Linked DNA regions of Homo sapiens: region 1 is linked to region 2. The links are contacts of gene promoters, found by promoter capture Hi-C in blood cells and fetal thymus (Javierre and others, 2016). All regions are on one chromosome and are shown on one strand. Each heading gives the region's core, a stretch centred on a gene start or on the middle of the fragment in contact. The rest is flanking DNA. Distances are from core to core; before and after follow the strand shown. Region 1 overlaps ANKRD55 (ankyrin repeat domain 55). Region 2 holds the start of IL6ST (interleukin 6 cytokine family signal transducer).

Evidence for each region. The method cuts DNA at HindIII sites, captures the fragments that hold promoters and counts their contacts. A CHiCAGO score of 5 or more calls a contact.
Region 1: a fragment that was not itself captured here is called in contact with the fragment with the promoter of IL6ST in region 2 in 3 of 17 cell types (non-activated CD4 T cells, naive CD4 T cells and activated CD4 T cells); the score reaches 5.9 in non-activated CD4 T cells.

Annotation. Positions count from the first base shown.
Region 1 is chr5:56,094,961-56,099,998 of GRCh38, reverse strand. ANKRD55 (ankyrin repeat domain 55) reads left to right here. Exons shown (of 12, transcript NM_024669.3): 12 at 1-319. Among named protein-coding and RNA genes, the nearest start is that of IL6ST-DT, 100 kb to the right of the region's middle. The HindIII fragment of the contact is 7,933 bases long and covers 1-5,038 here.
Region 2 is chr5:55,991,969-55,997,343 of GRCh38, reverse strand. It overlaps IL6ST (interleukin 6 cytokine family signal transducer), which reads left to right and starts at 2,381. Exons shown (of 17, transcript NM_002184.4): 1 at 2,381-2,560. It overlaps IL6ST-DT (IL6ST divergent transcript), which reads right to left and starts at 2,177. Exons shown (of 2, transcript NR_102755.1): 1 at 1,790-2,177. RefSeq lists an enhancer at 1,828-2,339, cis regulatory regions at 1,928-2,601, 1,295-3,613 and a silencer at 2,171-2,650. The HindIII fragment of the contact is 8,053 bases long and covers 1-5,375 here.

The sequences.
Region 1 (5,038 bases), core at 688-3,187, 100 kb before region 2:
TGGGTGTGCATATTAAGTCTGTGAATTTCTGTGACTTCCACATGCCAAAATTAAAAGACAAAATATGTTATCAGTAGGAAAACTGAGCTATGTTTGGTTTGCTTTGTGGCATGTGCACTGTTTTTTTGTTATTGTTCTTTGGTTGTTTTTTTGCTGAATGATTTTATGTTTTGGGAAAAAAAGTACGCTTTGCTGAATAAAAGCAAAAAACAAAACAAAAAAAAAACCACATCCCAGACAAACATGTCTTCACATTTATTGTCATTCTAACTTGAACTAATGAAACCTATTTAAAAATAAATTCCTATGATCAGTCACAGTTTACGGCTTTTAAATGTACAATCTTCTGCAAAATATTTTTTAACATTGTCAGTTCCTGGCTACAGCCCAAGTCACTTGACAATGTTTATCTCTCTTCTTTGTTATTTAATTATTTCCATATGTCATCATTTTCAGATATGATTGATTGTGCCAACAGGGAGAAGTCATGTGATTTGGAAAGATCTACATCCTGGCCCAACAGAGTTGAATAGGCAGTTCTCACACATTTCTCAAATACTCTACATATTTAACTATTTTTCTGTTTCAAAATAATGGTCTCTTGCCTACTCAAGACTTTCGCAAACTTAAGACTTAGCAAAGTTTTGAATGACTACAACTAACTGCGGATCTTACTAAGATAATTATGTGTTGTTTGGATTGATTTGTGCTAGGGGTCTGCATAAAGTTCAAGGCTTAGCCACATAAGATGATGGCCACTCTATGTTATTTGGGAGCCTAGATATTATTTTGTGAATATCTCAAGTACCTGTATAACATTCACCACTTTATATTAGTAGTATTTGTTTGGAAAGGTTAGACTATACCATTAACTAGATAGACACTCCTCTGGGGCCAAATCACAATCCTTTGGCTTTGCACTTCTAGAAATTTATACAATGCCTGGCACAAAGTAGGCACTTGATCATTTCATTTTTTTTCAGGAAGGAAGGAAGTAGAGAGGCAAAGAGGGAGTTGGCAAGGAAGGGGGATGTAGAAAGCAATCATAAAAGATGTCATTAGTCCACAATCTCTTTTTTTTCTTTTTTAAGATGGAGTCTCCCTCTGTCGCCCAGGCTGGAGTGCAGTGGCGCAATCTCAGCTCACTGCCACCTCTGCCTGCTGGGTTCAAGGGATTCTCCTGTCTCAGCCTCCCGAGTAGCTGGGATTACAGGCACACGCTACCATGCCCGGCTAATTTTTTTGTATTTTTAATAGAGACAGGTTTTGCCATGTTGGCCAGGCTGGTCTCGAACTCTTGACCTCAGGTGATCCACCCACCTTGGCCTCCCAAAGTGCTGGGATTACAGGCCTGAGCCACCACACCCAGCCTAGTCCACAATCTCTTTTTGACGATGATAGTTGCATGAATCAGAGATTGTAAAGGAGAAAGTGTACGGATCAGCCTTCCAAGCTGGGCAGTAGCTAGAGGGAAAGAAAGTCCTGTTACAAACAGAAGGACTTCAGGACATAGCTTCTGAAGAATTTTCCTTTTGTGTTGTTTTGTTTTGTTTGTGGGCTGTTCTCATCTTTGAAGAGTCATTCTTTAAGCATCAACCTGTTAGGTTGTTTGGCATCAGACTGTTAAGTTGTTCAGCTGTGTCACAGGCTACTTCTGAATCCATGTCCATCCACAAGTAGATTACCTAGCCCTACACTGCCTGCATCAGTCAGGGTAGGCTAGCTTCCACTTTAACAATAAACAACCTCCAAATCTCACTGGCTGACACGGTTTGTTTCTTATTCACAATACATGTCTCATACCAGCCGGCAGAGTTGGCTGATGTAGATTCCATTTCAATATGTTCTTCTTTGGTGACCAAACCAGAGGAAATGAGAGGTGAATCTCATTATTTACTCTCACATTTCATTTGCCAAGTCAAACTGTGTGGACATGCCTAACTTCAAAAGAAGTAAAGAAATGTATTCTGACCGTGCACGGTGGCTCACGGCTGTAATCTCAGCACTTTAGGAGGCCGAGGTGGGCGGATCACGAGGTCAAGAGATCGAGACCATCCTGGCTAACACGGCGAAACCCCGTCTTTACTAAATACACAAAAAATTAGCCGGGCGTAGTGGCGGGCGCCTGTATTCCCAGCTACTCAGGAGGCTGAGGCAGAAGAATGGCGTGAACCCAGGGGGCGGAGCTTGCAGTGAGCCAAGATCGCACCACTGCACTCCAGCCTGGGCGACAGAGTCTCAAAAAAAAAAAAAAAGTTAGCTGGGCGTGGTGGCGCTCGGGAGGCTGAGGCAGGAGAATCGCTTGAACCCGGGAGATTGCGCCACTGCACTCCAGCCTGGTGACAGACCGAGACTCCGTCTCAAAAAGAAAGAAAAGTGAGGTCTCTCTAGTCCCATAATTCACATATATAATCCCCAAACCATCATTTTCCTGTTCCAGAAAATTCATTCAAATTTCATAGTGTGGTATACCCTGGGCAAAGCCTTCTTCCTGAATTTGTTTATTGGGTTTGTACATCTACACAGGCAATTTGTGGAAAGTGCCCACCAACTCAGTACTTTGTGCTAAACCAGTTAGAGTTGTTGGAAGTTAGGGTTGCTGATTTTTTTTCATTTTTCTTAGTTCCCTTTGGTAATCACCTGGTTTAACATAGGTGTTATTTCTTCCAGTAAACACTGAATTCCAATGTTCTCATCTTGCTGGAAGTAAACCAATATAAATAGATTGCTGTGGCTCCAGCTTATTATCCGTTTCAGCTCTACCACAGCACAACTTGGCACTCAGTCTCATTTTAGAAAACCCCACCATGATGAGAAATATGCACATGCTCCTCATGTTATGATGGAATTATGTCCCAACAAACCCATTGTAAGGTGAAAATAGCGTTGTCGATTTTTTTTTTTTTTAATTTTTTGAGACAGGTCTCACTCTGTCACCCAGGCTGGAGTGCAGTGGTGTGATCATGGCTCATTACAGCCTCAACTTCCCAGGCTCAGGTGATTCCCCAAACTCAGCCTCCCAAGTAGCTGGGACTACAAGGTGTACACCACCACATCTAGCTACTTTTTTATATTTTTAGTAGAGATGAAGTTTTGCCATGTTGCCCAGGCTGGTCTCAAACTCCTGGGCTCAAGCAATCCTCCCTCCTCGGCCTCCCAAAGTGCTGGGATTACAGGCATAAGCCACCACGCCCAGCCCAAAAATACATTTAACGCACTTAACCTACCAAACATCATAGCTTATCCTAGCCTACCTTTAATGTGCTCAGAACACTCATAATAGCCTACAGCAGAACAAAATTATCTAACACAAAGCCTACGTTATAACAGTGTTGACTATCTCATGTAATTTATTAAATACTATACTGAAAGTGAAAAACAGAATGATTGTATAGGTGCTTGAAGTAAAGTCAAAAAATCATAAGTTGAATGATCATAAGTCAAGGACCATCTGTAATGCCTTCCAGAAAGACAATCATAAGCATTAATTTTACTTTTGCCTCTACCTTTTTTTTTTTTTTTTTTTTTTGAAATTTACAAATGCATGTCTCTAAGCATGTGCATCCTGGCATTTTAAAGGTAATCTTTTGAAAACAACCTTTTGGAATCCACTCTAGGTTTAAATGGGGTAACTAAGAAGGAACATATTTTACCTTAGCATAAAATATAATGCCCAAATCAAAAACTAAATTAATAAAGAAACATGATGGCACCTCTCACATGTAGTAGTGAGACTCTCTGATGGTCTTCAAGGGAAAAATGATATTTTGAAATCAGAGAATTCTGTTAGAATCACATATTTCCTAGACATTGACAAAGAAATGTAAGTACTAGTGGATGAAGACTGTCAACAAACTGTATGTTCCAATAGAAACTATAGTCTTTCAAAGCAAATGCCTTTGTATTCTGACCCCATTCCAGTCTAACCCTGGTTTTTTTGGACAGCTGAATGAGTTTTTGAAAGCTGAACAGTTTCCATTCAGTATGTCACACCAGCACAATTGTCACTAGAGAGACAAAGGTAGTTTTCACATTGATGTGTGAAAAACAGGAAATAACATGTTGATTATTAAACCCCTAGTAAAATGTTTATTAATGGTGAATGGTAAACCACCTTGCCACTGCTAGTGGTCTACAAACTGGGGAAAATGAGAGCAAAAGAAAGATTCCCAGTTCCCTTCAAAGGATGAGGTACAATCTAACTGGCTGACATGAAAGATAGGGAACTGAAATTTCTGTAGACTGTGAGATTGGAAGGTGGGAGGAGGACGGAGGAGACTGCAAATGACCCCGCATGAGCAGTGAAACCAAGAACTGAACCCAGTTACAAACAGATGACCATGAGCAATGTCTCCAGTGTGCTGAAAGTGAACCTGGGCCAAAGACATAACAGTGAACGAAGGTGAAGGAAGGAAATTATCTCCATTGCTTCTATTCATGTGACATAAAAGTACTTCCAAAAGGCTTTTAAGAGAAGCCAATGACACTTACTGACTACTTAGACACTGATAATAAAAAACGACAGGTTATGAGGAAGCAAAGCCACATTTTAGAGCCCAGAGAATTGTCCTCTGCAATGGGCAAGCCAAGGCCTGGCCTCACCCTCAGAAGGATGAGCTCCATTTCCCTTGACTAACACTTCAGACATTGCTCACAGATCTCCTAGGACAGGGGTCCCCAACCCACAGGCCACAGACCAGTACCAGTCCATCACCTGTTAGGAAGCAGGCTACACAGCAGGAGATGAGCAGTAGGTGAGTGAACGAAGTTTCATCTGTATTTACAGCTGCTCCCCATCACTCGCATTACTGCCTGAGCTCCACCTCCTGTCAGATCAGTGGCAGCATTAGATTCTCACTGGAGCACAAACCCTATTGTGAGCTGTGCATGAGAAGGATCTAGGTTGTGCACTCCTTATGAGAATCTAACGCCCAGTGATCTGCCACTGTTTCCCATCACCCTGAGATGGGACTGTCTAGTCGTAGGAAAACAAGCTCAGGGCTCCCACTGATTCTACATTATGAAGTGTATGTAATAA
Region 2 (5,375 bases), core at 1,132-3,631:
AAATGCTGGGATTACAGGTGTGAGCCACTGCACCCGGCCTGCTCTTGACATATCTAAAATCTCAAATGGTCACAGGACACAAATGGAGAGTTCTCCATTAATATACTACTTTCCCCTACTTACCTTTGCATTTTGACAAGGCTTTCTAGTAACAAATCCTTAATCTGAAATTCGTAATTTCAAGGCCAATACTCTACAGAGGTATCTGCAAAGTCATGTAATTCCAGCACAGCAGAGGTCTTCCGTCCTGTTGCTCTGAAAAATACTTCTCCAATATTGATTCATCCTTTTGGCCTCAGACTTTAACTACTCCCATAAAATGTGAGTTTCTTGGGAGCAGGACCTGAGCTGAGCCAATAAAAAGACACCCATAAAAGCACTAACTCAGTCATTTGTTTTCCTAATGGTGCCAAGGCAGGCTGGTGTGTTGTGACATATCAATCCACTTCTGTGTACCTGCCCTTCCCCGTCCAGCAAAATATCATCATTTTTAATATATGTTGTGATACTAAAATATTTCAGAAGTGTTGACCGAGTAGACATTCAATAATGATTATAGCTGATACTTACAGAGCACCTACTATGTGCCAAACACTGTATGTATTTTAACTCATTTAATCCTTGCAACAATCCTGTTAGGTTGGTATTGTTATTCTCATTTTGCAGATGAAGAAATTTGAAAAGACTTGCCCAAGGTCACAGAGATGAGAAATAGAGGCATCAGCATTTAAACCTAGGCAATCTAGAACCAGAGGGTACATTTAACCACTATACATCTCCCCTAAATACATCTTTGCATCACACCTGTTATCTCAGCACTTTGGGAGGCCACTAAGGCCGGAGGATCGTTTGTTGCCAGCAGTTCAAGACCAGCCGGGTCAGCATACCAAAATCTTGTCTCTCCAAAAATTTTAAAAATTGGCCAGGTATTGTAGGGGCACCTGTAGTCTGAGATACTTGGGAGGTTGAGGTGGGAGGATCGCTAGAGCCCAGGAATTTGAACGTGCGGTGAGCATGATCCAGCCACTGCACTCCAGCCTGGGTGACAGAGTGAGACTGTGAACAACAACAAAAAAATCAAGTTTCCTGGATCTATACAAAATTTTCAATTTAACAAATTTTTATAAAAATTTGTTTTAAAATAAACACCCCTCTAAATGGCAAAGCTAGAACAGAATCTGGTCACAATCTATAGGTTAGATATAGGATGACAGGGAGGAGCAAGAGCTGAACACATCAGCTGCAGCACCATCTACTTTGCCTGCGACTCCGTTAGCAGGCCCACTTTGCCCTTTTATAAATTATCTGATCAACAACTAAGAGATTAAAATTCGATCTATGTTTTACTCTATCTGAATCCTCAATATAATGAAGAACTTTATAATTGTTAATTTATGGATATAATTTAAGTTCATTAAACCATTATTTCCTTCCTATATCCTCTCATTCTTCCACAAAAACCTCTACCTTTGGGTGTTTACTTTTACAGACACCCACGCACACACCCCACACGCACGCACGCACATGCCTTATCTTTTAACTCAAGATTCTCATCTTCCTTTGGGGAGAAACAAACATCATGAGCCTTGAGGTCCATTTTCTGAGGGAAAGGGGGGGGCGGAGGCGGGATGAATAGGTTTTTACCCGGTATTTTTTATCATAAACGGGGAGGTACAAACCGCAAAGAAACACTAGTCGCTTGGTGGGCCACCACCTCTGGGGCTCACTGATCAATCGCACCCAAACTCATTTACTAATTTAAAAAAGTACTGTGGCAAGGCTCGTTTACGTAAGTCTTGGAGAGAAGCCGCCGCCACAATCTGCCGCAGTCTCGTGCGGAGTCACGGCCACCGAGCTCTTCACTTTCCCCAAGAGGCTCCCACGCCTTCCCCATCCCCAAGGGAGCTAGGCGGTCCCTCGCGGCTCTGAGTCCCTCGGGGAAGGCCGCGAAGAGAGGCCGCAGGCGCCCTGGCGAGAAGGGAGGGCGGGGGCAGCGGGCGGCGGGCAGCACCCGGGCTCCAGTTCATGACCCCGTTATTCCACAGAAAAATGGAACATTCCGCTCTTTCCGCCCACAGAGGGGAGGTGGGGGGAACCCTTCGATCTAGTCTGGGAGAGGCGACGCGGACGCAGCCACCGGAATCCGGGACGCGAAGAGCCGCGTTACGGGAATCGCTACCCCTCGGAGTCCCGCCCCCTCGTCGACAGGCGGCCACTGGACCAATGCCTGGGCGCAAAGGGTCTCTCAGGGGCCAATCAGCGCCTAGGTCCCGGTAGGGGGCGGGGCGCAGCGTTGGCCGGCCGGGGGCGCAGCTGGGCGGGATTGGGGAGCGCCCCGCCCCGCCGCGGGACTGGGGTGGCGCGCTACCTCTGCGGAGAAGGATCTGACAGTGTTCCGGAGCCGGGGCGAGCAGCCAAAAGGCCCGCGGAGTCGCGCTGGGCCGCCCCGGCGCAGCTGAACCGGGGGCCGCGCCTGCCAGGCCGACGGGTCTGGCCCAGCCTGGCGCCAAGGGGTTCGTGCGCTGTGGAGACGCGGAGGGTCGAGGCGGCGCGGCCTGAGGTGAGGAGGGGCCGGGTGCTGGGTCGCGTAGCTGGAGTTAGAGTGTCGGTGGTTTCGGACGGGCTATCTGGCACTCGAGGAGACCTCCCTTCCCCCTGAGAGCAGCGCCCGGAACTTGTCAGCCCAGCCTGGAAATCCCCACATTCCTTCCCCTTCCTGCTCCCGGACCTCCGAATTCTACTTCCACAACTTTGTCACCTCGATTATCGCAGCCCTGAGTACAAACTTCACCCAGGCGCACGCACGCACCCCTCTTAACGCCCGCCCCGCAGAACGCCCTTCAAGAACAAACCCCCCTTTTTGTTACCAGATCCCACGTTTTTCCCAATCCCCTTTTCATCTCCCCTGAAATTCTATTCGCTCCGCACTTGTCTTCATTCTCGAGGTGGATTTCCCTTCCCCAAAGCCGTTTTTTCATCTTGAAATCGTAACGTTTCAGCTTTGTTGAAAGTTCACAATGCTTATAAACACTATTAACGTTTCTTTCCTTCTTTTGATCTTTTCTATTAATAATTATCATTCCTAACGAATTCCACATCTCACTGTATCCCAAGGAGAACAAATCAGTTTTTAAAATTTTACCTCCTCCGACCTAAACTTTTGAAGATAGTGCAGGAAGCAAGGGTCTGTTCTTCAGTGGATGAACAGCATTTTATTTCATAATCCGAAACTGAAAAAAAAAAAAAATCACAGGTTAAAAATAAGACGTCACCTTTTTTTTTTTTTTTTTTTTTTGCCTTCAGAAGGAAACGCATTTTGGCTTAGTTTGTGAAGTATTTCAACAATTATACTGCCTTAAAATAACTAGTTATTAGAATGCCAGGGTGAATTTTCTGAAAGATTGTGGTATTTGCTTTTGACAGTGCTGTAAACAAACCCTTTAAACTGTGTATGACTGCCAGCTTCAAGTTGGAACAACTCTTAATTTGAAATTACGGACTCAGATCATCAGTTTAGCTGTGTGCCATTATGTTAATTTCTTAAATTCATGTTAATTCCTATTTGGAAGTATTTTTGAACTATGAACTGAAATATTACATTTATAGAACCAACTTGCTATTAAATTGTGCTTTCCAACTATTTCTCTTTAGGGATAATCTTGAACGTTTGTTTTTAATCTTGAGTGAAAGAAAAAAATTACAGGAAGGAGAAAGTGTCAAAAAGGACAGACTGTAGTGGGATTTTTTTCTTATTTTAAGTATGTATTGACAATACCAGTTTAATTTTCTCACAGGCAATTTAGATTATTATAAATACTGCTGCCACCTAATTTAATATAATATAGTCTTACGTAACTAAAAATGTTGTTCTCACTCTTATTTGTGAATTGCAGTATTTTCAATTTATTTAAATTTGTTTCCAAGGCTTTGCACTTCAGTTCAGTGTTAGGGCGAAAGTTAAATACATGTGAAGTAGGTGTTAAAATGTCCCCTTTATAGAGAAGGAAACAGGAGTCTCGCTGAAAACTAGATCTGTGTGACTCCAAATCCTGTGCTCTGAATCATTTTGTCATGTTGACACGTTTCTCATAAAAACCCCAGTGCCACAATTTGGTTTGGGAACTTAAGGGCAACCCATAAATCCTCTACAGTGGCAGGGAGGGATTCCCCGCTCCCTCCTTTCAGAGCTGCTCATTTTAATGGGAGTCAGAATTCTCTGGCCCTAATACATTTGCAGCTTGGCTCCTAGAGAAGCATGGAATGTTCTCACAGCTTCTCCGTTTCTTTGATTGCAAAGGCAGAATGATCAGAGTTGAGGTTCCTATTGTGCTTTATTATTTTACACAGCAAATACTAAGCAATTACTACCTGCTGTACGAACTCACAAAGGTGCAGGAGATGTAATCAGGACCTTCAAAGAGTTTATAATAATTGGATTGACAAACTTATACGAAAAAAACTACAAGGATGCAAAGCAGTTTTAATTAAATGCAGAGTGATGCAGAAAATCCTGTAGATATTAAAATTAGGGAATGATCGTTTAAGGATTGGAGTGAGCATTTAAGGATTGGAATGAGCAAAGGATTTACCAGAAGTTGGCCTTGAAACCTGGGTAGGATTTGGATAAAGGGAAAAATGAAGACAGCCCATTAATAATAGCGAATGGAGGACAAAATGTAGAATGGAGAATATAGAACATAATATAGGACTAGCTTGTGGAAAGGATCAGCAGTAACTAAGGTCTATTAATTAAAACAGGCAATATATTTAGTGCTTATGTTGTGCCAGTTGCTGTTTTGAGCACTTTGCCCATATTAAGGCATTTAATCTTCATAATATTATGAAGTAGGTCTAATAATAATAGGATAAAATCCTCTTTTTACACATAGGGAAACCCAGGCACAAGAAGGTTAATTAATTTGCCCAGCTAAGTGGTAGATCTAAAGGTCATACATAGACAGCCTGGCTTCAGAATCTGACCTCTTAACCATGATACATCCTGCGTCTCCATACAGTACGCTTGAGCGACAGCGAGTAGATAGAAAATAAGATCATACCAGAAAGTCTATAAAAACCCACCCTTAATTGTCCACCAGGTGCCTCAAACTATGGTAGATTCTGAGGATATCAAGATATGTGAAACAATTACTGTGCAGTGTTCTGAGTCCTGTTAGGGAATGATGTAAGAGTACACTGACAGCAAAGATGTTTGAAGTGGGGGGAAATTCCATATAAGAGATGATACTTCAAAAGCAGTTTGTAGTGCACAGCAGAGTCAGGAAAGACATTGGAATAATATATGTAGAAGCACAGACTGAAAGAACAAGGTATGTTAGAGGAAGTCTAGTGGTTTGCTGAGTCTACAGGGATGGTTA